Linked DNA regions of Homo sapiens: region 2 is linked to region 1. Evidence: promoter capture Hi-C in human tissues and cell types (Jung and others, 2019). All regions are on one chromosome and are shown on one strand. The core of a region is centred on a gene start or on the middle of the fragment in contact, and the rest is flanking DNA. Distances in the headings are between cores, read along the strand shown.

Evidence for each region. Contacts are between HindIII fragments. The study calls those that stand out against the background at their distance.
Region 2: a contact is called between a fragment that was not itself captured here and the fragment with the promoter of OR4N4 in region 1, in 4 of the 25 tissues and cell types used here (lymphoblastoid cells, pancreas, small bowel and 1 more).

Annotation. Positions count from the first base shown.
Region 1 is chr15:22,092,482-22,097,323 of GRCh38, forward strand. OR4N4 (olfactory receptor family 4 subfamily N member 4) reads left to right here and starts at 2,041. Exons shown (of 1, transcript NM_001005241.4): 1 at 2,041-3,381. The coding sequence starts at 2,041. The coding sequence ends at 2,991. It overlaps OR4M2-OT1 (OR4M2 overlapping transcript 1), which reads left to right. Exons shown (of 9, transcript NR_110480.2): 8 at 2,032-2,310; 9 at 2,870-3,137. RefSeq lists an enhancer at 1,669-2,868. The HindIII fragment of the contact is 10,782 bases long and covers 1-4,842 here.
Region 2 is chr15:22,215,122-22,219,963 of GRCh38, forward strand. No RefSeq gene overlaps it. Among named protein-coding and RNA genes, the nearest start is that of MIR1268A, 7.8 kb to the right of the region's middle. The HindIII fragment of the contact is 7,776 bases long and covers 1-4,842 here.

The DNA of each region.
Region 1 (4,842 bases), core at 791-3,290:
ATATAACAAAAGAGCTTAGAGGGAAGCACACAAAGGGAACACAGTGAATCAAAGATATTTGATGGTAGAGGGTTCCAGATGTTACAGAGTCAGTAGGAGAACAGAAGTGGATAACAGGGAATAAAATGCAAGGTACAGTGCAAGAACCTGAAACTCCCAATCTCAGAGATACTTGAAAGTTTCTTCTATGACCCAAATACATCCTCAATTTTTGAAAGAGTATGAAATAACCAACTGCATAATAACATGCAAGATGTACACAACTTAAGAGTAAGCAGAGAGGGATTCCCGACTTTTCTATTAGCAGGTTTTATATGCACAGAAAGACTGATAAATATTAAGGTCAATAAATGGCCAAGTGCCAAAAAAAAAAAAAAAGAAAAGAAGAAGGGTATCATATGTAAAATTTTATGCTTCTGTTTTGGTTAGGATACGTGTGTTTGCGTGTATTTATTTGTGTCTGTGTGATGTACATACATGTGATGTAAGATACTTTTTTCTGTTTGAGACAGAGTCTTGCTCTGTCACCCAGGCTGGAGTGCAGTGGTACAATATGGACTCACTGCAACCTCCACCTCCCAGGTTCAAGCGACTCTCATGCTTCAGCCTCTGAAGTAGCTGGGACTACAGGCTCCTGCCACCACGCCCAGCTAATTTTTATATTTTTAGTAGAGTCAGGGTTTTGCCAGGCTGGTCTCGAACTCTTGGCCTCAAGTGATCCACCTGCTTTGGCCTCCAAAAAGGGTGGGATTACAGGTGTGGGCCACAGTGCCTGGCCTAGGTACTTCTTTCATAATTCCCAATTCTGACCATACCTGAAAACCTCTGCTATTAATTAATATATTAGGATTAGATATATTTTGAAAAGCATATCTTTTGATGTTTTAAATAGATGTGCCATTATAAATATTTTCTTTGATTTCTTAATTCGGGACTTTATTGTTTTTGTTTCCCTCTCTTCTTACACACCGACTCCTCATTCAGTTAGTTAATGAACCTCTTTCCCTCTACGCTTCATAGTCCACATTATTTTAAAACAAATGTGCTGTGTAACAGAAGCATATGAAATATTTTTCTGTATCACATTGTAGTATTTTGTTCTAGCTCAAGATCTTTAGCTTTTAAATTTTTTTATTTCAACCACAAACCATTTTTTGAACATGCACCAAAAACATACGTATCTTCTTTATGCATTTCATATCCAATTACATCATGATTCTATATAAATGTAAAATGTTCAAAAATAAAACTTCAAACAATAGGATACAATAATGTAAGTGTAGAAATTCTCCTATTATTGCTTTCATACCAATAAATTATCATGCACATCCCCAAGCATGAGCACAGTCTCAATTTGGAAGCCACTGTACAGAGAAGCCTCAGATCTTGTTTTCTCCAGAGTGACTGAGAGCTTTTTATTTAGACCAGTTCATTTGGTTGATGTTCTATAGAGAAAAGGGAATTATTTCTGGTAAGTACAGTTGCCTTTATAAAAGTTTTTAGATAAACATTCCTAAGGTAGCATTTATATAAAATAAATTGTACTAATTGCTGTATAGTTCAATACTCAATAAATTTTGACAAAAATAGATACATATAACCATTATAATTAAAAACGGAACATTTCTGTCCCCTTGAAAAGTTCTGTCATTCTTCTTTGCTGTCAATCCCAGCTCATCTTCCATTCAAAGCAAAACATGAAGTCCTCAATAACTGGGGTTAAGTTTTTTCTCAGTCAGAAAAATTTTCATATGCCTCATACAAATCAGGAACAAATTCAGAGCAGTAACATCCAAGTCTCACATGAGTGAACACTTAAACAGAAGCACAGGACTGAAACAGAAGAAAGAGTGTGGCTTCAGGACCAGGGTGTTGGCTATCATGAAATGAGGAAGCATAAACAGTAGAAGTGATTTCTTAGGTTGTTGAGATAGATAGAATAATATAAATGTGGCATACCTTGTGTTTAGTTCAAGAACTATAATCTAGATGTAACACCTGAAAATAAACTCTTTTATTGATATTCTACAGGCAGAAGAAATGAAGATAGCAAACAACACAGTAGTGACAGAATTTATCCTCCTTGGTCTGACTCAGTCTCAAGATATTCAGCTCTTGGTCTTTGTGCTGATCTTAATTTTCTACCTTATCATCCTCCCTGGAAATTTTCTCATTATTTTCACCATAAGGTCAGACCCTGGGCTCACAGCCCCCCTCTATTTATTTCTGGGCAACTTGGCCTTCCTGGATGCATCCTACTCCTTCATTGTGGCTCCCAGGATGTTGGTGGACTTCCTCTCTGAGAAAAAGGTAATCTCCTACAGAGGCTGCATCACTCAGCTCTTTTTCTTGCACTTCCTTGGAGGAGGGGAGGGATTACTCCTTGTTGTGATGGCCTTTGACCGCTACATCGCCATCTGCCGGCCTCTGCACTGTTCAACTGTCATGAACCCTAGAGCCTGCTATGCAATGATGTTGGCTCTGTGGCTTGGGGGTTTTGTCCACTCCATTATCCAGGTGGTCCTCATCCTCCGCTTGCCTTTTTGTGGCCCAAACCAGCTGGACAACTTCTTCTGTGATGTCCGACAGGTCATCAAGCTGGCTTGCACCGACATGTTTGTGGTGGAGCTTCTAATGGTCTTCAACAGTGGCCTGATGACACTCCTGTGCTTTCTGGGGCTTCTGGCTTCCTATGCAGTCATCCTCTGCCATGTTCGTAGGGCAGCTTCTGAAGGGAAGAACAAGGCCATGTCCACGTGCACCACTCGTGTCATTATTATACTTCTTATGTTTGGACCTGCTATCTTCATCTACATGTGCCCTTTCAGGGCCTTACCAGCTGACAAGATGGTTTCTCTCTTTCACACAGTGATCTTTCCATTGATGAATCCTATGATTTATACCCTTCGCAACCAGGAAGTGAAAACTTCCATGAAGAGGTTATTGAGTCGACATGTAGTCTGTCAAGTGGATTTTATAATAAGAAACTGAGAAGGAGGAATTCTGGCTGGAATTCATATCATTCATTTAACAAGTCCTGTTTTTCACTGAGTACCTCCCATTTGCCAGGTACCATTGTAGGCAATGGAGGAGAGTTATGCATAATGAGAGAATAAACTTATTATATTTAAAGAATATAAAGGAAACCCCAGAGTGGTTGAAGTATAATGAGTAAGTGTGAGAAATTTAAGGGTTAAGTTTTATGTGACTGCAAGGGTCTTTCGGTCTGAGGTAAGAATTTTTTCATATTTTAATTGTGGTAAGAACCCATTTTAATGTTTTAAGCAAAGGAGCAGTTCATCTACAATGCTTTCCTCTACTGGTTAGAGCAACATCAGCAAGATTTTAGGCAGAGATTAATAAACTGTAAAATATCAAAAACCAAATGTATGTTGCAAGTATGTTATGAAAAAGACTATAGTATTTTATATATATAAATATATTAAAATTATATATATTTTAATGTTTTTATATATATTTTATATATATGTATATTTACATATATATAAAATAAGTAATATATTTTTATATATTTATAAATATATATTTTTATATATTTATAAATATATATTTTTATATATTTAATCAATATATAAATAAATATATATTTCCCCCCCAAAATTTGGTGGCGAGATAAGAAAGGAAGCCAATTTGTTTCATGGTAAAATGTCATGAAATTATTTCACTTATTTTTTCTTCAGAGCTTCACGATGATTATTAGACATTATTAGATATTTAGTACTTCAGATTGTATTACAGATTACATAAATCACTCCAGTTATTTTCAACATAGTGAAGCAGCTTCGTTGTCTGGGGAAATACCTGCAGTTCGTTGTCTTGTGCTGTGCCGATTAATGACACAGACTCACACACGGAGTGGGTTAAGGAACAGAAAGTTTATTAGGCAAGAAGGAAGAGAAGAGCTTCCCCATACAGAGGGAGAAGCACTCTGAATGGAGTAACCCCACTTGTGGGGAAAGCAGTCAGTTATATTGGGAGGCTCAGGGAGGTAGTGTCTGATTTGCATAGGGCCCAGGGGATTCCTTTGACCAGGTGTGTCATTCACACAACCCATGAAAAGACTGGCCCTCCCACCCTAATCTTTTATTCTGCAAATGCGGCTTCTACCTGGCTGTCACCATGATGCCTGCACATGTGGCTTTACTTGGCTGGTGCCATGACAACTGCACATGTGGCAACAAAGGAAAGTGAGCGGGAAGAGTCATATTGAGTGGACCTGGCTGTTAGCCACCTGCATTTACTTCTGCAAGCCTGTAATTTACATACCTATGCTTCCAGCATGGCTTTTCAGGCTGCTTTCTGTTAGAAAAGAAATGGTTTGGGGGCTGCTTTTTTATTAAAAGGAAAAGCCTTTCTGAGGACTCTTTTACCCTTTCTAGCTGCCTAAAAATAATTTCTTAATAACTCCTGTATTAATAGTGGGGTCTAATGTGAGAAATTAGGTACTTATAAAATTTTTCAAGTATAGAAGACCATTATTTATGCTGGGCATCTATTATAGAAATTGTTACCAGAAAAACACTGTAGAACTAACCTGCTAAGTGACCTATCCCTGCCATAACCAGGAGACTGAGAGGACAAGAAACCACTTTCCCAGCTCTTGGCTCAGGGAACACATCAATCAGCCATGGTCTGGCATGAAGAGAATTGTAGAGAGCACCTCTCATGTTATTGTCTCTCTAATTATTTTTTCTAAATTAAATTTTGTATGAGTATATTTGATAGAATCTGTAATGGTAGTGGCAAAAGTCTTTGACAAACCTGTCTGTGTGTTGACAGCTTCTTCAGAAAGCAAACAAAAATGGTGGTAAAATATAGGAT
Region 2 (4,842 bases), core at 959-3,458, 120 kb after region 1:
GTCCAAGGGATACCAGGCCTATGTGGGGAGGGGGCAGAGGTAGAAAAGCAATGGGGGAGGTGCGGGGCATCGGCTGTCCCTGCCCTGGAGAGGATGGGGCCAGCCAGGTAGGTGTGCAGCCAGGACCACTCAAGGACTCAAGGGAGAGATGCGGTCGGGGAGAGAGGAGTGGGGGACGGGGAGAGAGGAGGGGGGGATGGGGAGAGAGGAGGGGGGGACGGGGGGTGGGGAGAGAGGAAGGGGTGCCGGGGAGAGAGGAAGGGGTGCCGGGGAGAGAGGAAGGGGTGTCTGGGAGAGAGGAAGGGGTGTTGGGGAAAGAGGGGAAAGGGGACAGAGGGGGCGGGGACAGGAGCCGGAACCGGGGTCACACGTGGAAGGCCAGGACCCTGGGTCAGGAGTGGGAGCCAAGACCCGGGGTCACATGTGGGGCTGGCCACCTGACTGGAGTGTGGTCTTCAGTCATGCTGTCACCAGGCTGTGGGACCTCAGGGATGCAGTGAGGGAGCCAGGCCTCGGGGGCCCAGCCTGGATTCTGCCGACTCCCATCCCTCAGCCTCACCAAGAGGCCACTGACTTCGTCACTGCACAGAGATCCCATCCTGGGGTTCTGGGGCCTGTGCAGGAGAAACACAGGTGCAGGGCCACGTGCCCACACCGCTGGCATCTGTGCTCCACAACCAAACTCCTAGAGCCATCATCATCTCTGGGCTGCAGTGCCCGCCGGTGACAACTCCCTGACCACCTCGCTGTGGTCACACTCCTGTCCCCGTGGGTAGAAAATCCAGTGATGCGTGTAGACAAAGAGCCCTCTGCACACCTGGAACCCCAGCGCCTTGGGAGGCCCAGGTGGGGGGATCACCTGAGCTCAGGAGTTTGAGACCAGCCTGGGCAACATGGCAAAACCTCATCTCTAGGAAAAATTTAACCATCAGACGGACACGGTGGTGCACACCTGTAATCCCAGCTACTAGGAAGGCTGAGGCAGGAGAATCGCTTGAACCCGGGAGGCAGAGGTTGCAGTGAGCCGAGACCGCACCACTGCACTCCAGCCTGGGTGACAGAGCAAGACCCTGTTTCAAAAAAAAAAAAAAAAAAACCATTTAGCCATTTGCATGATGAGGACCATAGAGAATAAAAAATAAAATGAAAAGAATCTCAACAACTCACTCTCCAATTCCTTTAGGAAAATGAAATGAGAAACATACACATGTAAAGTATTTAGTATTCCCTGCAGTTTAAGAAACAGAATCCAGGGCCAGGCGAGGTGGCTCACGCCTGTCATCCCGGCACTTTGGGAGGCTGAGGCGGGTGGATCACCTGAGGTCAGGAGTTCGAGACCAGCCTGGCCAACATGCTGAAACCCCATCTCTACTAAAAGTACAAAAAGTAGTAGCCGGGTGTAGTGGCACATACCTGTAGTCCCAGCTACTCGGGAGGCTGATGCAGGAGAATCACTTGAACCCAGGAGGTGGAGCTTGCAGTGAGTCGAGATCGCGACACTGCACTCCAGCCTGGGTGGCAGAGCAAGACTCTGTCTCCAAAAAAGAAAAAAGAAAAAAAGAATCCTTGTCAGTCTACGGACAAGAATGCCAGTACCACACCATCATGATGAGGGTCACTTCTGTGGGACACACAAGACACAGCTCACACCTGCCCCTACACACAGCTATTTCTGACCCCAAACAGCGAGGCAGTCACTTCAGACCCAAAAGGAAGGTGAAGCCTGCGGCCCTGCACCATCCGCGTGCCACTGCACTGACTTAAAGTTTCTCACGGGCTGGGTGTGGTGGCTCACGCCTGTAATCCCAGCACTTGGTGACGCCGAGGCAGGTGGATCACCTGAGCTCGGGAGTTCGAGACCAGCCTGGCCAACATGGTGAAACTCTGTCTCTACTAAAAATACAAAAATTAGCCAGGCATGATGGCAGGCACCTGTAATCCCAGCTACTCCAGAGACTGAGGCAGGAGAATGGCTTGAACCCGACAGGTGGAGGTTGTAGTTAGCCGAGATCATACCACTGCACTCCAGCCTGGGTGACACGGCGAGGATCCATCTCAAAAAATAAATAAATAAATAAAGCTTCTCGTGAATGATGAAACCAAAATTACCATCGCGTCTGCACTGTATGGATCTGTCTGCTACAACCAGCAGGACCACAGCCAGGCTGCAACTCACTTTCTTTACAAAAAGCACCAGGGATGACCAGGAATTAGTCCCCACCAGGTGACACTCACAGCCTTACCCACACGTAGGAGCCCCACGGACATATGGATCAAATACAATACGAGAGACACACATCTCACCCCATTCTGTGCAGCCAACACAGTGCACATTCAGCATACGGTTTGGTTTGCTTTTTGTTTTTTTCTGAGACCGGGTCTCACTCTGCCTCCCAGGCTGGAGCGTGGTGGTGCAATCTCAGCTCACTGCAGCCTCCACCTTCTGGGCTCGAGTGATCTTCTCACCTCAGCTTCCTGTGTAGCCAGGACCACAGGTCCCACGCCCAGCTAATTTTTTTTTTAAGAGATAGGGTCTCACTATGTTGCCCAGGCTGGTCTTGAACTCCTGGGCTCAAGCAGCCCTCCCCATTTGGCCTCCCAAAGTGCTTGGCACAGGGTAGATTTTAAGTTAAAAATCTCACAAAACAGGCCGGGTGCAGTCTTATGCCTGGAATCCAGCACTTTGCAAGCCCGATTGGGGTGTTTTTTTTAGTAGAGATGGGTTTTCGCCACTGGAATCCAGCACTTTGGGAGGCCAAGTGGGGAGGGCTGCTTGAGTCCAGGAGTTTGAGACCAGCCTGCAGAGCATAGGCTCAGAGACTCTGTCTCCATGAAAAAAAGGCACACACACACACACACACATGCACACACACGCACAGGTGTGGTGGTGGACGCCTGTAGTCCCAGCTATTTAGGAGGCAGAGGTGGGAGGATTGCTTGAGCCCAGGTGGTAGAGGCTAAAGTGAGCTGTGATCACACCACTGCACTATCTAGCCTGGGCAACACAGCAGAAACGTGCCTCGAAAAATTAAACGTTTACAGGCCAGGCACGGTGGCTCACACCTGTAATCCCAGCACTTTGGGAGGCCAAGGTGGGTGAATCACCTGCAGTCAGAAGTTTGAGACCAGCATGACCAACATGGAGAAACCCCATCTCTACTAAAGATACAAAAAAATTAGCAGGGCATGGTGGTACATGCCCGTAATCCCAGCTACTCAGGAGGCTGAGGCAGGAGAATCGCTTCAACTCGGGAGGCAGAGGTTGCAGTGAGCTGAGATTGCGCCACTGCATTCCAGCCTGGGTGACAGAGCAAGACTCCGTCTAAAAAAAAAAAAAAAAAGTTTAGAAAACAATATACATAATATGAATTTTTTTTCCTAAGACAGAATTTCGCTTGTTGCCCAGGCTGGAGTGCAGTGGTGCAATCTTGGCTCACCGCAATCTCCGCCGCCCAGATTCAAGCGTTTCTCCTGCCTCAGCCTCCCGAGTAGCTGGGATTACAGGCATGCACCACCATGCCTGGCTAATTTCTGTATTTTAGTAGAGACGGGGTTTTACCACATTGGCCAGGTTGGTCTCGAACTCCTGACCTCAGGTGATCCCCCTGCCTGGGCCTCTCAAAGTGCTGGGATGACAGGCGTGAGCCATTGTGCCTGGCCATGAATCCAGTTTTGATACAATTTTGAGAAACACAAATGTCTATATACAGACATACACAGGTATATCTATTATCCATGCATGCGTGCCTACACACACTCACAAATGTGTGTGTGCATGTGTGTATACTTATACATTTTGGTGATATTTGGTGATATTCTTCTAGCCCCATATAGGACTGCAGGAACATAACCAAATCTTTTTTTTTTTTTTTTTTGAGATGGAGTCTTGCCCTGTCACCCAGGCTGGAGTGCAGTGGCACAATCTTGGCTCACTGCAACCTCCACATCCCAGGTTCACGCCATTCTCCTGCCTCAGCTTCCTGAGTAGCTGGGACTACAGGTGCCTGCCACCACGCCCGGCTAAATTTTTGTATTTTTAGTAGAGACAGAGTTTCACTGCGTTAGCCAGGATGGTCTCCATCTCCTGACCTCGTGATCCGCCCGCCTCGGCCTCCCAAAGTGCTGGGATTACAGGCTTGAGCCACTGCACCCGGACAACCAAATCTTAACAATGCTTATCTCAGGGCCGGGTGCAGTGGCTCACACCTGTCATCTCAGCACTTTGGGAGACCGAGGCAGGCGTATCACCTAGGTCAGGAGTTCGAGACCAGCCTGGCCAACATGGGGAAACCTCGTCTCTACTAAAAATATGAAATATTAGCTGGGCGTGGTGGTTGGTGCCTGTAATCCCAGCTACTCGGGAGGCTGAGGCAGGAGAATCGCTTGAACCCAGGAGGCAGAGGTTGCAGTGAGCCAAGGTTGTGCCATTGCACTCTGGCCTGGGCAATAAGAGCAAAACTCTGTCTCAAAAAAACAAAACAAAACAAAAAGAAAAACAAACTTGCAAACCTATTATAAAACAGCCACCCCCTGGCTGGGCACAGGGGCTCACGCCTGTCATCACAGCACTTTGGGAGGCCAAGGCGGGTGGATCACCTGAGTTCGGGAGTTTGAGACCAGCCTGGCCAGCATGGAGAAACCCCCATCTCTACTAAGAATACAAAATTAGCCAGGCGTGGTGGCAGGTGTCTGTAATCCCAGCTACTTGGGAGGCTGAGGCAGGAGAATCACTTGAACCCAGAAGGCAGAGGCTGCAGTGAGCCGAGATCTTGCCATCGCACTCCGGCCTGGGCAACAAGAGCAAAAGTCTGTCTCAAAAAAAAAAAAAAAAAGAAAAAAAGA